3 separate regions of the Homo sapiens genome follow, and all the other regions are linked to region 3. Evidence: promoter capture Hi-C in human tissues and cell types (Jung and others, 2019). All regions are on one chromosome and are shown on one strand. Each heading gives the region's core, a stretch centred on a gene start or on the middle of the fragment in contact. The rest is flanking DNA. Distances are from core to core; before and after follow the strand shown.

Region 1 (3,762 bases), core at 1,139-3,638, 59 kb before region 3:
GGCACATGACTCACAGGTGACCAATCATAGTATTCTCTGGGATTGATTCATAGTGGTTGGGAGAGAGAAGGTCTCTTTTTGCAGGAATTGGGAAGCCATGAATCTGCCATCATCCCTCTAACTCCCCACGCAGAGAGTCTGGCTATAGAAAGAGGCTGAGGGGATAAGTAAAGCTGAGAAATGGAGAGTGCAATTGAGCCCTGGGTCTTGTGGACTTCCCAGTTACAGGAGCTAATACATTCTCTCCCTTTTTTTTTCTTTTTGAGATGGAGTCTTGCTCTGTCACCCAGGCTGGAGTGCAGTGGGGCAATCTCAGCTCACTGTAACCTCTGCCTCTTGGATTCAAAGGATTCTCCTGCTTCAGCCTCCCGAGTAGCTGGGACTACATGCTCGGCTAATTTTTGTATTTTTAGTAGAGATGGGGTTTCACCATGTTGACCAGGTTGGTATCAAACCAGGCTGACCTCAAGTGATCCACCCACCTCAGCCTCCCAAAGTGCTGGGATTACAAGTGTGAGCCACTGCGCCCAGCCAATTCTATTTTTTTTATTAAAGCTAGTTTGATTTGCAATTTTATCACTTGCAATAACAAGAGTCCTAACTCAAGTAGAACTTATCACAATTTTAACAGCTGTATTGAGCCATAATTCACATACCATACAATTCACCCATTTATTTGCACAATTTTTAATTAATATTTGTGTAAGTATTTATTTAATGTCTCTTTCCCCATTAGTTCCATGACAGTAAGGATTGCAGCTGTTTGTTCATCATTCATTATATCCTAAGTGCCAGGGCAGAACTTGGCTCAGCGTGCTCAATAAATGTTTTTCACTGAATAAGTAAAATGTATTAATGAATATCTACCCTATGCTGGGTCCTTAGGATAATGAAACAAATCAGACACAATCCATGCAGTAGAAGCCTAGGAGGAGAGATAAACATGTAAATAGGCAAGTTCTGGTGATCAATAGCAGAAAGCTCAGGGAGTCGAGTTAGGCAGAGATGGGTTACTTTGACCTGCCCAAATCTAACCAATTCATTAAGGTCTTCTTCAAGTGCCTTCCTAAAAACATGGCACTAAGATTTAATCTCAGGTGTTCTATCTGTGTTCCTAAATAAATTTGATAGGTTTATACTGAGTCCACCACTTGCTAATGGTATAGCTTGAGCAAGTTATTTAACCTCTCTGAACCTCATTTTTGAGAGTATTGGACATGCTCTATAGTACCTAGCTTGAAGGTTTATAAAGAGACTTAAATGAGATAATTAATGCTAAACATTTCACATAGTGCCTTGTTCAATATATATCAGCTATGATTACCACATTTGCTGTGTAGTAAAGTTAAGTGGTTAGGAGCACAGGCTCTGGGAGCCAGACTACCACCTGAGTTGAAATACTGGTTCTACCCTCTTACTAGCTGTGTGACTTTGGCAAGTTACTCAACTTCTCTGTGCCTCACTTTTCTCATCTGTTAAAAAAAACACACACACACAAAATGTGGAGATAAGGAAAGAACATATCTTGGAGGGTTTTAGAGGGATTAAATTAGATGCATAATACTTTGAAACACTTAGAATAAATAGTGCCTGACACATGGTAAGCACCTAATAAATGTTTAACCAATTCACCTTTAAAAAATCTTAGAATGGCCATACAAGGTGGCTCATGCCTATAATCCCAGCACTTTGGGAGGCTGAGGTGGGCAGATCACCTGAGGTCAGGAGTTCGAGACCAGCCTGGCCAACATGATGAAACCCCGTCTCTACTGAAAATACAAAAAATTAGCCAGGCATGGTGGTGGGTGCCTATAATCCCAGCTACTCAGGAAGCTGAGGCAGGAGAATCACTTGAACCCGGGAGGCAGAGGTTGCAGTAAGCCGAGATCGCCCCACTGCACTCCAGCCTGGGTGACAAGAGTGAAACTCCATCTCAAAAAAAAAAATCTTAGTGAGAAGGGCTTGGCATGCTGGTATATTTTTTTCTAATACATATCCAAATATGTATTAGAAAATAAATACAGAAAATCATCCTGCACAATTCCAGTGGCGTGAGTCCCCTCTTTGGGCAACACTACTCCAGACTCACACCATCCAGTGATTTATGGTTCCCTGACCCACAAGGCAGCTCCTTGCCTCTGCCAGGGTTATGCCCCTGCCTGGAATGCCCTTAACTTTCTTCTTCACTGGACTGGTCCTACTTATCTTCAAGACTCCACTTGGGCATCATGTTCTCTGATCCCAGGAGAATGACGTTCCTCCTCTATGCTCCCCCAACATCCCTCTGTCACAGCCCTGACCAATTGGACTATGACTGTTACTGTAGGCTTTCTCACTGGATCGAGCTTATTCAGACCAGGAAATGTAGCCTATTTCACAGCTCAGGGCCTAGAACAGAGTAGGCACTCAGGAAGTCTTCACTGGACAATAAAATGAAGTACCCAAATACTTAACATCATAAAATTAACCAAAACATATTTTTGCATCCTCCGTGCCCGGCCATATGCTAGGCACAGTAGGCACAAAGACAAACAAGATTCATTTCCTGTCTGCAGGGAACTTTCGGGAGACAGACAAGTAAATGAGTGCATCCAACTGTGATGGGTACTGTGACTCTTTTACGTATGGGGTGCATTGAGAGAACAAATAAAGAGCTCTGGCAGGGGGCTGGGAAAGGTTTCATAGAAGATGTGAAGTGTAAGCTGTTTTGAAAGCTGAGTGGGGTCTCACCAGCTGGATGAGGGTAGAAGATGGGGAGTAGAAGAGAGCATTCCAAGCAGATGAAATATAGTCAGTCCAGGGAGAGTGCTGGGAGCCTCCAGGGAGACTACAGGTTGAAAGCCTAAAGGGACCGTCTAAAGTTCACCAGGTGTGGGCTTCATCACTTGCTTATTGGTCAATGGACCACATGGAGGCACTTTCTGGACTCTGAGAACCTCTGTGATAGTGTAGAGACAGCAAGGCCCAAGATGACCCAACCTCCCTGTTTATTAAGCACTTATAGTTTGCTACAGTTTACAGGACACCTTGGGGAGAAAAAAGTATACAACACACACACACCCACATACTCATAATACAAATATATAAAACACACAATTCACACTTGTATTTTATACAGATTACCCACCTATAAGCCCAAATATCTGTTCTTCAGAAACTGTCAGAGACTTTAAACTCTCCACTCCTCAATACTTACAACACTAAGGATGTGAGATATACTTAGGGAGACTGTCTAAAAGCTAAGCAGTACATCTATTCTAGAGGAAGATTTCAAACTTTCAAACCTACAGGCATGGAACTCTTTTTGTAAGGCAACCTTACCCTGGACCCCAATACATAAAATAAAAGCTCTTCTTTTAAGCAAAGGTAGGTAGAGTTCTGCTTTGGGGCCACTGAGACATGCCTGGGCACCTAGGCCTCAAAGGAGCACAAGGATCAAAATATGTTAAGCTTGGAAAAAGTCAGGACACCGATGAGCTACATACTCAAACCACATAGTTTTGTTCCTTCATACTATTACTTTTGTTGTGAATTGTGTTTTGGTGAGAAGCATGAATTTGCATTGAGATAAACTGTAAGAACAGCATATAAATACTCAGTGCTGGAAGGATGTTTGATATTCAAGACATGGTCACATTCAGCATACAGAGTCTGCTCTACAGTTGATGATGAAGAGTAGTGCTTCTCTGGAATAATGGGTTTGTTTTTATACTAGGACACTCTAAACCATGTAGCTGATTATGTTTCCCTCTTGGCAAAGGT
Region 2 (4,025 bases), core at 699-3,198, 36 kb after region 3:
CACTAGGTGAAGTCAGTGCCTTGATTCATTTCTCTCTCCATCCACATCATGGATTCCCAGGTTAAGATCATGTGCCTTACCCAGAAAAAGGATTCGTGGAATATAACCCCCGTCAGGGCTGAAATCTTCATCTTTGGGTTCCTCTTCATCCTATTAAGATTAAATGTAAACCTTAAGTCAGATAACGTCCTCTCTCTCCTCAAAACCATTCAGTGGCTTCCCCACTTGTCAGGGCAAAACCCCAAGTCCTTGCAGTGGCCTATAAGGCCCTACATGATCTATCACCTAGGCACTTCTCTAACTTAATGTCCTACCCCTTGTTAAGTCCTCTTCAGCTACACTGACCTCTTGCTGTTGCTGTCATTAAACAAGCCAGGGATAATCCTAACACAGGCTTTTGGACTTGCTCTTAACTCTCTGCTGAACACACTTTCCCCATTATTATCCACATGGTTGACTCCCTTTTCTGTTTCAGACCTTTGCTCAAATATCCCTTTATTTTCAAACCATCTATTTAAAACCACAGTCATCCCTTCCACCTTTCTTTTTTAGCCCTAGCATTTACCACCATCTGACATATTCTAAAATACTTATTTTCTGTCTTCCCACACTAGCATGTTATTTCAACGAGGAAATTTTGTCTGTTTTGTTCACTGCTATATTCCTAGTACCTACATCATTGACTTGCACATAGTATTTCTTTAGTGCATGAATCAATAAGACTGGCATTTTAGTCAAAGTTGTGGACTCATAGTCCTCCCAGGAGATTAAAAACCTACACAATCAGTTTTCTTTTTTTTTTTTTTTGAGACGGAGTCTCGCTCTGTCGCCCAGGCTGGAGTGCAGTTGTGCGATCTCGGCCCACTGCAAGCTCCGCCTCCTGGGTTCATGCCATCTTCTGCCTCAGCTGCCTGAGTAGCTGGGACTACAGGTGCCCGCCACCATGCCCAGCTAATTTTTTTATATTTTTAGTAGAGACGGGGTTTCACCATGTTAGCCAGGATGGTCTCAATCTCCTGACCTTGTGATCCACCTGCCTTGGCCTCCCAAAGTGCTGGGATCACAGGCATAAGCCACCACGCCCGGCCTAATCAGTTTTCTTTTTAAGAAATTTCCAAAGTTGGAGAATCCTCTATGAAGACGTTTTTACTGTTTCCTTTGAGTAGGAATCCTAATTCACCACAGAAAGTGGTGAGGAATTCATGTGCAAAGGCAATCAATACTTTCACAATTTATGATGTGGTTCCCATTTCAGGGGTTAAATACTTCGCTATGGTGAGGTGTATCAGCATTCAGGCTATCCCCTAGCTATATAAGCAATCCCTTAGCTGCCTCACTGTTAACTGTTAATGTGTTCACAAGAGTCCCAGACCTATGTTTAAGTAAACATTATCTTTTTTTTTTTTTTTCTCTTTTTTGAGATGGAGTTTCACTCTCTCACCCAGGCTGGAGTGCAGTGGCGCGATCTCAGCTCACTGCAACCTCTGCCTCCTGGGTCAAGCGATTCTCCTGCCTCAGGCTCCCTAGTAGCTGGGACTACAGGCACGCACCACCACACCCAGCTAATTTTTTTGTATTTTTAGTAGAGACAGGGTTTCACCATATTGGCCAGGCTGGTCTTGAACTCCTGACCTCATGATCTACCCACCTCAGCCTCCCAAAGTGCTGAGATTACAGGCATGAGCCACCATGTCTGGCCCAAGTAAACATTATTTTTACAGAAACGTATGGCTAGCGGTATCATCATAGAGCATCTGAGTACCTCACATGTGAAAAGTATGGCCTGAAAGAGAGCACGGCTAGGTGAGAGTACCTATTCTTATCACTTATTAGGCTCTATGACCTTGACCAAATCACATACCTGCTTCAGGCCTAAGATGGTTCTTTCTGTAAAATGAGGATAGTACCAATAGCCTAAAAATCCCTTCCAACTCTAAGATCTGACATTCTATGACTCAGGATTCCAAGACCTGCAGCCTATATGAGGTATGTAAAAGCTATTTTCATAAGGAAACAAGCAGGTTGCACATATAAGCCCAACACAGATTAGGTGCTCAGTTGAATCACATTTTGCAGAAAGTTGTGGTCTGCATGTATGACTATACCTTTAGTCTAGCTTTACAAAGACATAAAACATGTCATAATCATAAACTAAGGATAAAAGGACCTTAAAATCTAGTCATCTTAAGGCTGGGCATGCTGGCTCACGCCTGTAATCCCAGCATTTTGGGAGGCCGAGGCAGGCAGATCACTTAAGGTCAGGGGTTTGAGACTAGCCTGGCCAACATTGTGAGACCCTCATATCTACTAAAAATACAAAAATTGGCCAAACGCGGTGGCTCACATCTGTAATCCTAGCACTTTGGGAGGCTAAGGTGGGTAGATCACCAGAGGTCAGGAGTTTGAGACCAACCTGGCCAACATGGCAAAACCCCATCTCTATTAAAAATATAAAAATTAGCCTGGTGTGGTGGTGCATGCCTGTAGTCCCAACCACTCGGGAGGCGGAGGCAGGAGAATTGATTTAACCCGGGAGGAGGAGGTTGCAGCGAGCCAGGATCGCACCACTGCACTCCAGCCTGGGCAACAGAGCCAGACTCCATATAAAAAAAAAAAAAATTTAGTCATCTTATTCAATCTCTCCTCTCCTAGTTCCTCCCAGAAATAGATGTTAGATGGCTTTCTAACATATCTGATGCAAGCCTTAGTATTAGCGGTCAAGAGAAAAACACATACATAAATTTGACTTCATACCACTAATGAAGCTGTAATGAATATGCACGAATGATACTAACTTTAAAAGTCTTAAAATCATAGCAGAAAGGAGAAACTCTCAAAGTCTTACCTCAAGATTTACCATAACAAAATTATGGGAGAGTTCTGAAATTTCCGTAGATTCTGCAAATTTGGGCTTTAGAGCTGGGGGGAAAAAGATTTTGGAATAGAAGAAAAAACATCATTGTCACAACTAAACCTTAACGAACATAAGCATCACTATTTCTCTTTGGTAGTTTAGGCATTTGTTTAGTTGATTCATATAACAAACTTTTTTTACACTCTAAAAAACAAGAATTAGGCTACCTGGATTCTGAACCTGCACAGCTATGTGACCTTGAGTGACTTACTTCATTTCTCTGAAGCTGTTACCTCATTTATAAAATAAGGATAATGGCATACGAATAGGGGGGAAAAGCATTATTTGCTTTTTATAGTTACATTTCAAAAACCATTGACATGAAAGACAATAGAGTGACAGTCTGCCACACGTGTATATGTGTGTGTATACATATATGTATGTGTGTATATATGTTATATATACATATATACATATATACGTATATATTATATGTTATATATGTTATGTATATATGTGTATATATGTTATATACACACATACATTCCTATTATTATTATTATTTTTGAGACAGAGTCTCACTCTGTCACCCAGGCTGGAGTACAATGGTACGATCTCAGCTCACTGCAACCTCCGCCTCTCGGGCTCAAGCGATTCTCAGCCTCCCGAGTAGCTAGGATTACAGGCGCGTGCCACCAAATCCAGCTACTTTTTTTGTATTTTTAGTAGAGGCGGGGTTTCACTATGTTGGGCAGGCTGGTCAACTCCTGGCCTCAAGTGATCTGCCCGGCCCAGCCTCCCAGAGTGCTGGGATTACAGGCATGAGCCACTGCGCCTGGTCTTTTATACTATTTTTTACACTCCTTTTCCATCTAGGATTTTAAGTGCAGCATACTAAATAAAAGAAAAAGCCTGTCTGGGGAAGTGGCAAGGTGGTATAGCAGAAAGAACACATGCCACAGAGTCAGATAACTTGGGTTCTAATTTGGGTCCTACTTCCTTCTCATGTCTCTGTCCGTACATTTCAGCTTCCTCTAACATGTATTGTTCATTTGACATTTTAGCACTTAATCCCATACGTGACATAACTGTATCTTAATCACCTTAACTTCCCTAAAATCCCCTCCAAATATAATTGCAAATTTCATGAAGGCAGGAAATCTATGTCATA
Region 3 (3,899 bases), core at 661-3,160:
AGGTTACTGATGCCTCCCTTCATGTCATAATCTTTAAGAAACTGAAGATCTATTTCTTGGACTGGAGATGCTTTTAGATTTTTGCCTTTTCCCATACGGTTTCCTCTGATAGGAACACACTTTCCTCCACTGCTAGCTAAATCCTTCATGACCAGGAAGGCTTCCCCAACCCACCCACCTCCCCCAAAATGCTTCTTCTCTGGCTCCCACAGGGCACCAGGGCTTTCCACTTCTATAGATAGGGCCTTTCACGGCTTCCATTGTCTTCCTCTGTTTATAGGCACAGAACAGGTGGACACCCACCTGTGCGCGCGCACACACACACACACACACACACACACACATCCTCTCCTTTTACTGTCTCCCACCCCTTTCCATCTGGATTCCAGGAAGCCGGGGGAAGAGGGCCCATCTTGTTTTGTGTGTGTGTGTGTGTGTGTGTGTGTGTGTGTGTGTGTGTGTGTGTGTTTTGAGGGCCCATCTTTCTCCCACCTCCTCCACATCTCTCTTAGCTTCCAAAGGCTGCTGCCCTGCCCTCCCCAAAGTTGCTTCCATGCTTGGACTACAGAACAGAGTTGGATGACTTTTTCTGTCCACGATTCTCTTATTTTCTGTGATCCCCGGTGCCCGTGTAACAAGGTCCAGTGCCTGGGTCCCCTCCTTGGACTCCTGAGTGGCCGAGACACCGCTAGTGCGTGGACACCACTCCAGCCCCCATTACCTTTCCACCCTTACACCACGACCCACACCTGGCCTCCTCCCCAGGCTGACCCAGCGCCCCACCACCCTATCTATACACTCCAAGTTCTCCCACGATTCCTCCACTTGCAGCCGCCAGACCCTACTCTATTCCAGAGCCTCCTCTCCACTCCTGACCAGAATGTAGGCCCCTGTGTCCATTTCCAAGGCCACTTCCCTGTGTCTCCACCGGCTCCCTGCCCCCTTCCTCTGCAGCAGGGTAGACCCAACCTGGCCTCTCACCCTTCCATTCTCCCAAGCTTCCCGCCCCCAAGCCCCACCCCTCGTCTTCCATCTACAGTTACCCCCACGCCGGTCCCCAGCCGGGCTCAACCTCCGACCCCAGCTATCCATACCCACATCCCCCATAAATGACCCTCTTTCGACCAGACACTGCCCTGCTGCCTTTCTCCTTCCCAGCTATCCATACCCACATCCCCACCCCCGACCCTCTCCCAACCAGACACTCCCCAGCTGCCCAGCGCCCCTTGCCCTCGGCACCTCAGTCCCCTCCAGCTCCAAACGACCCCCGCCCAGCCAGTCCCCTCCCCTCAGCTCCTCACCTCCATGCCTCCCCCCGCACCCCCGCTCTAGCTCCCCTCAGTCCGCTCCCTTCACCGCCCCCTTCGCTGCCCCTCGGCTGCCCGGTACCACCTTTCCGCACAGCCCCACTCCGCCCTCCTCGCAGCTCCCCCGCCCCCCACGCCCCCGTTTCCCCCAGCGATCCCTCACTGCCCTCCAGTTGCCCCCCATCTCTCCTCCCAGCCCCAGCGCCGTCTTTCTTGCTCCCCTCCCGCCCTTGGAGCTCCCCCGGCTGCCCCCAACGTCTGGGAGACCCCCTCGGCGCCCCCTCCCTAGGTGAGCCCCACCTCTGCCGCCGCGGAGCCCCCTCCCTCGCTCCTCCCCCGGCTTCCTTCCGCTGCCCCGCGCTCCTTCTCGGCGCCCGCTCTCGGTGCCCAGCGCCCCGCGCCGGGGATCGGTCCCTGATCCTCCGCGGGCGGGCTGCCGGGGCCGCGCCCCTTACCGCGGACTCCGAGTGCGGGACGACGGGTTCGCTCCCGGACGGTCGGCGGGACGGCAGGACCTGGCGTCGGGAGGGCGCGGAGGGGGCCGGGGCGGGGCGCTGCGGGATGGTCTGGTCCGGTCAGGTCCTCACAGTGGCGCCTGAGGGCTGAGGCTCCCGCTCCAGCACTGCTCCGCTCCGGCCGCATCCAGGCCCCGCCCAAGGGCGGAGTCTGTGTTCGCCCCGCCCCGGCCCTCAACTCCTAGCAGGTGTAATCCGAGGTGACTCAGGACCTCCAGGTCCCCCATGTCTGGGTGACTCTCGTGATTTATCTTAATTGTCATGCCTCGTTCCATTGACTGAACTTACTAGGGTAATTAGAGAGCTTTGATGATAATGTAGCTGATGATGGGTAGCAGTTTTGCCATTTCCAAACTGCTTTCTGGTCCGGTCCGTTCTATGGCTCCGTCTTCACAAAAGCCCAGAGAGGGAGGCTGACTACAAGCGGAAACCAAGCCAGAAACCTGGACGCTGTCCTCTACCCTATCTGTGTTTCCTTCACACCCCACATCCCACCGCCTTAACATATCCCTGCCCTTCCTCTGTGTCTCCATTGCCCTTGTTCTGACTCCAGCATCATCACTTCTTGCTTGGACTAATGCAACAGCTTCCTAATTCCTGCCTTCACTCTCCAATTCACCCTATAAAACCAGGACGTGGTGTCAGCATGGCCATTTCCACCCTTGTACAAAAATTCTTTCTCCTGTGGTCTCCAGTCATACCACCCTCCACCCCTCCTCATCACTGACACCCAATTGTTCCTTATGCATTAAAGATTGCAGCCCCTGGCCCATGGTCATCCTAACTAGCCCCTGTTCTGCCATACTCCTGGTGACTTCGGTAGCTGTGAGACTTCCTGGTCCCATTCATTCTGAGTCAGATACCAAAATCATTTTGACACAAGCCCGAGCAACCCTTTAAAAAATGTCACCATGTTACCATCAACCTTGTTTAAGAAAACTCTCGGCCAGGCACAGTGGCTGACGCCTGTAATCCCAGCACTTTGGAAGGCCAAAGTGGGCAGATCACTTGAGGTCAGGAGTTCGAGACCAACCTGGCCAACATGGTGAAACCCTGTCTCTACTAAAAATACAAAAATTAGCCGGGCATGGTGGTGCATGCCTGTAGTCCCAGCTACTTGGGAGGCTGAGGCAGAATTGCTTGCACCCAGGAGGCAGAGGTTGCAGTGAGCCGAGATCACTGCACTCCAGCAGTGCACTCCAGCCTGGGCAACAAAGCCAGACTCCATCAAAAACCAAACAAACAAACAAACAAAAACCTCTCAATGGTTTCCCATTACCAGGAGGCTGTCAACAGGAGTAGAAAAATGTTCTTGCCTGGCCTGGCCCTAGGAAGTCCCACTTCCACTAGAGGAGGCAGATAGAGGAGGCAATAAATACCCCACCCTCAAATCCTGATATGGACTTCCAGTCTTCCTGAGGTCACAGGAGCCAGCTGAAGGCTTGCTCTAGAATCATTGTCTTTCCCCACACTTCTCCCCCATCTCAGATCTTAGAGGTCTGAGTCAAATACCAAAACCATTTTCCCCCCAAGTTCCATTATGACCCTGTCTACAGTGTACATCTCCAGCCTAGGAACCACCCAAGCTGACAGCTCCTCTGCTTGTCTGGCCTCTGCCTCAGACGCTTACTCTTCTGAGCTTCTTGCCCAGCCCTTTCACTCACACTGCCCATCACACTGGCAGCTCTTTCCTCTGTGCCTTCTAGAATCCTGTTCTTTTGTCAACAAACTCTGCTATACCCTCTGCTTCTTCAGAGTACTCAGGTGACTTCTTTGCCTGAGCCTCCTCCAGGTACTGCCTCCTTTGCTGCCCTCTGCTAGAAGGCTTCTCATTTTTCCACTCCCCATATACTATAAAACTAGGATGTGGGGATGGCATGGCCATTTCCACCCTTGTGCAAAAATTCTTTCTTCTGTGCTCTCCAGCCATACCCCCCTCAACCCCTCCTCATCACTGACCCCCCAATTGCTCCTTATGCATTACAGATTGCAGCCCCTGGCTCATGGTCATCCTCACTAGCCCCTGTCCTGCCATCCTCCTGGTGACTTCAGTAGCTATGAGATTTCCTGGTCCCTC

The links. Contacts are between HindIII fragments. The study calls those that stand out against the background at their distance.
Region 1: a fragment that was not itself captured here is called in contact with the fragment with the promoter of RAB3B in region 3 in 3 of the 25 tissues and cell types used here (small bowel, spleen and stomach).
Region 2: a contact is called between a fragment that was not itself captured here and the fragment with the promoter of RAB3B in region 3, in 1 of the 25 tissues and cell types used here (ovary).

The regions. Positions count from the first base shown.
Region 1 is chr1:51,929,083-51,932,844 of GRCh38, forward strand. All of the region lies in intron 4 of RAB3B (RAB3B, member RAS oncogene family), which reads right to left. Among named protein-coding and RNA genes, the nearest start is that of NRDC, 52 kb to the left of the region's middle. The HindIII fragment of the contact is 3,929 bases long and covers 425-3,762 here.
Region 2 is chr1:52,024,430-52,028,454 of GRCh38, forward strand. It overlaps TXNDC12 (thioredoxin domain containing 12), which reads right to left. Exons shown (of 7, transcript NM_015913.4): 4 at 2,846-2,919; 5 at 81-150. Among named protein-coding and RNA genes, the nearest start is that of KTI12, 7.4 kb to the right of the region's middle. The HindIII fragment of the contact is 9,000 bases long and covers 1-4,025 here.
Region 3 is chr1:51,988,790-51,992,688 of GRCh38, forward strand. RAB3B (RAB3B, member RAS oncogene family) reads right to left here and starts at 1,911. Exons shown (of 5, transcript NM_002867.4): 1 at 1,763-1,911. RefSeq lists a silencer at 1,825-1,934. The HindIII fragment of the contact is 14,307 bases long and covers 483-3,899 here.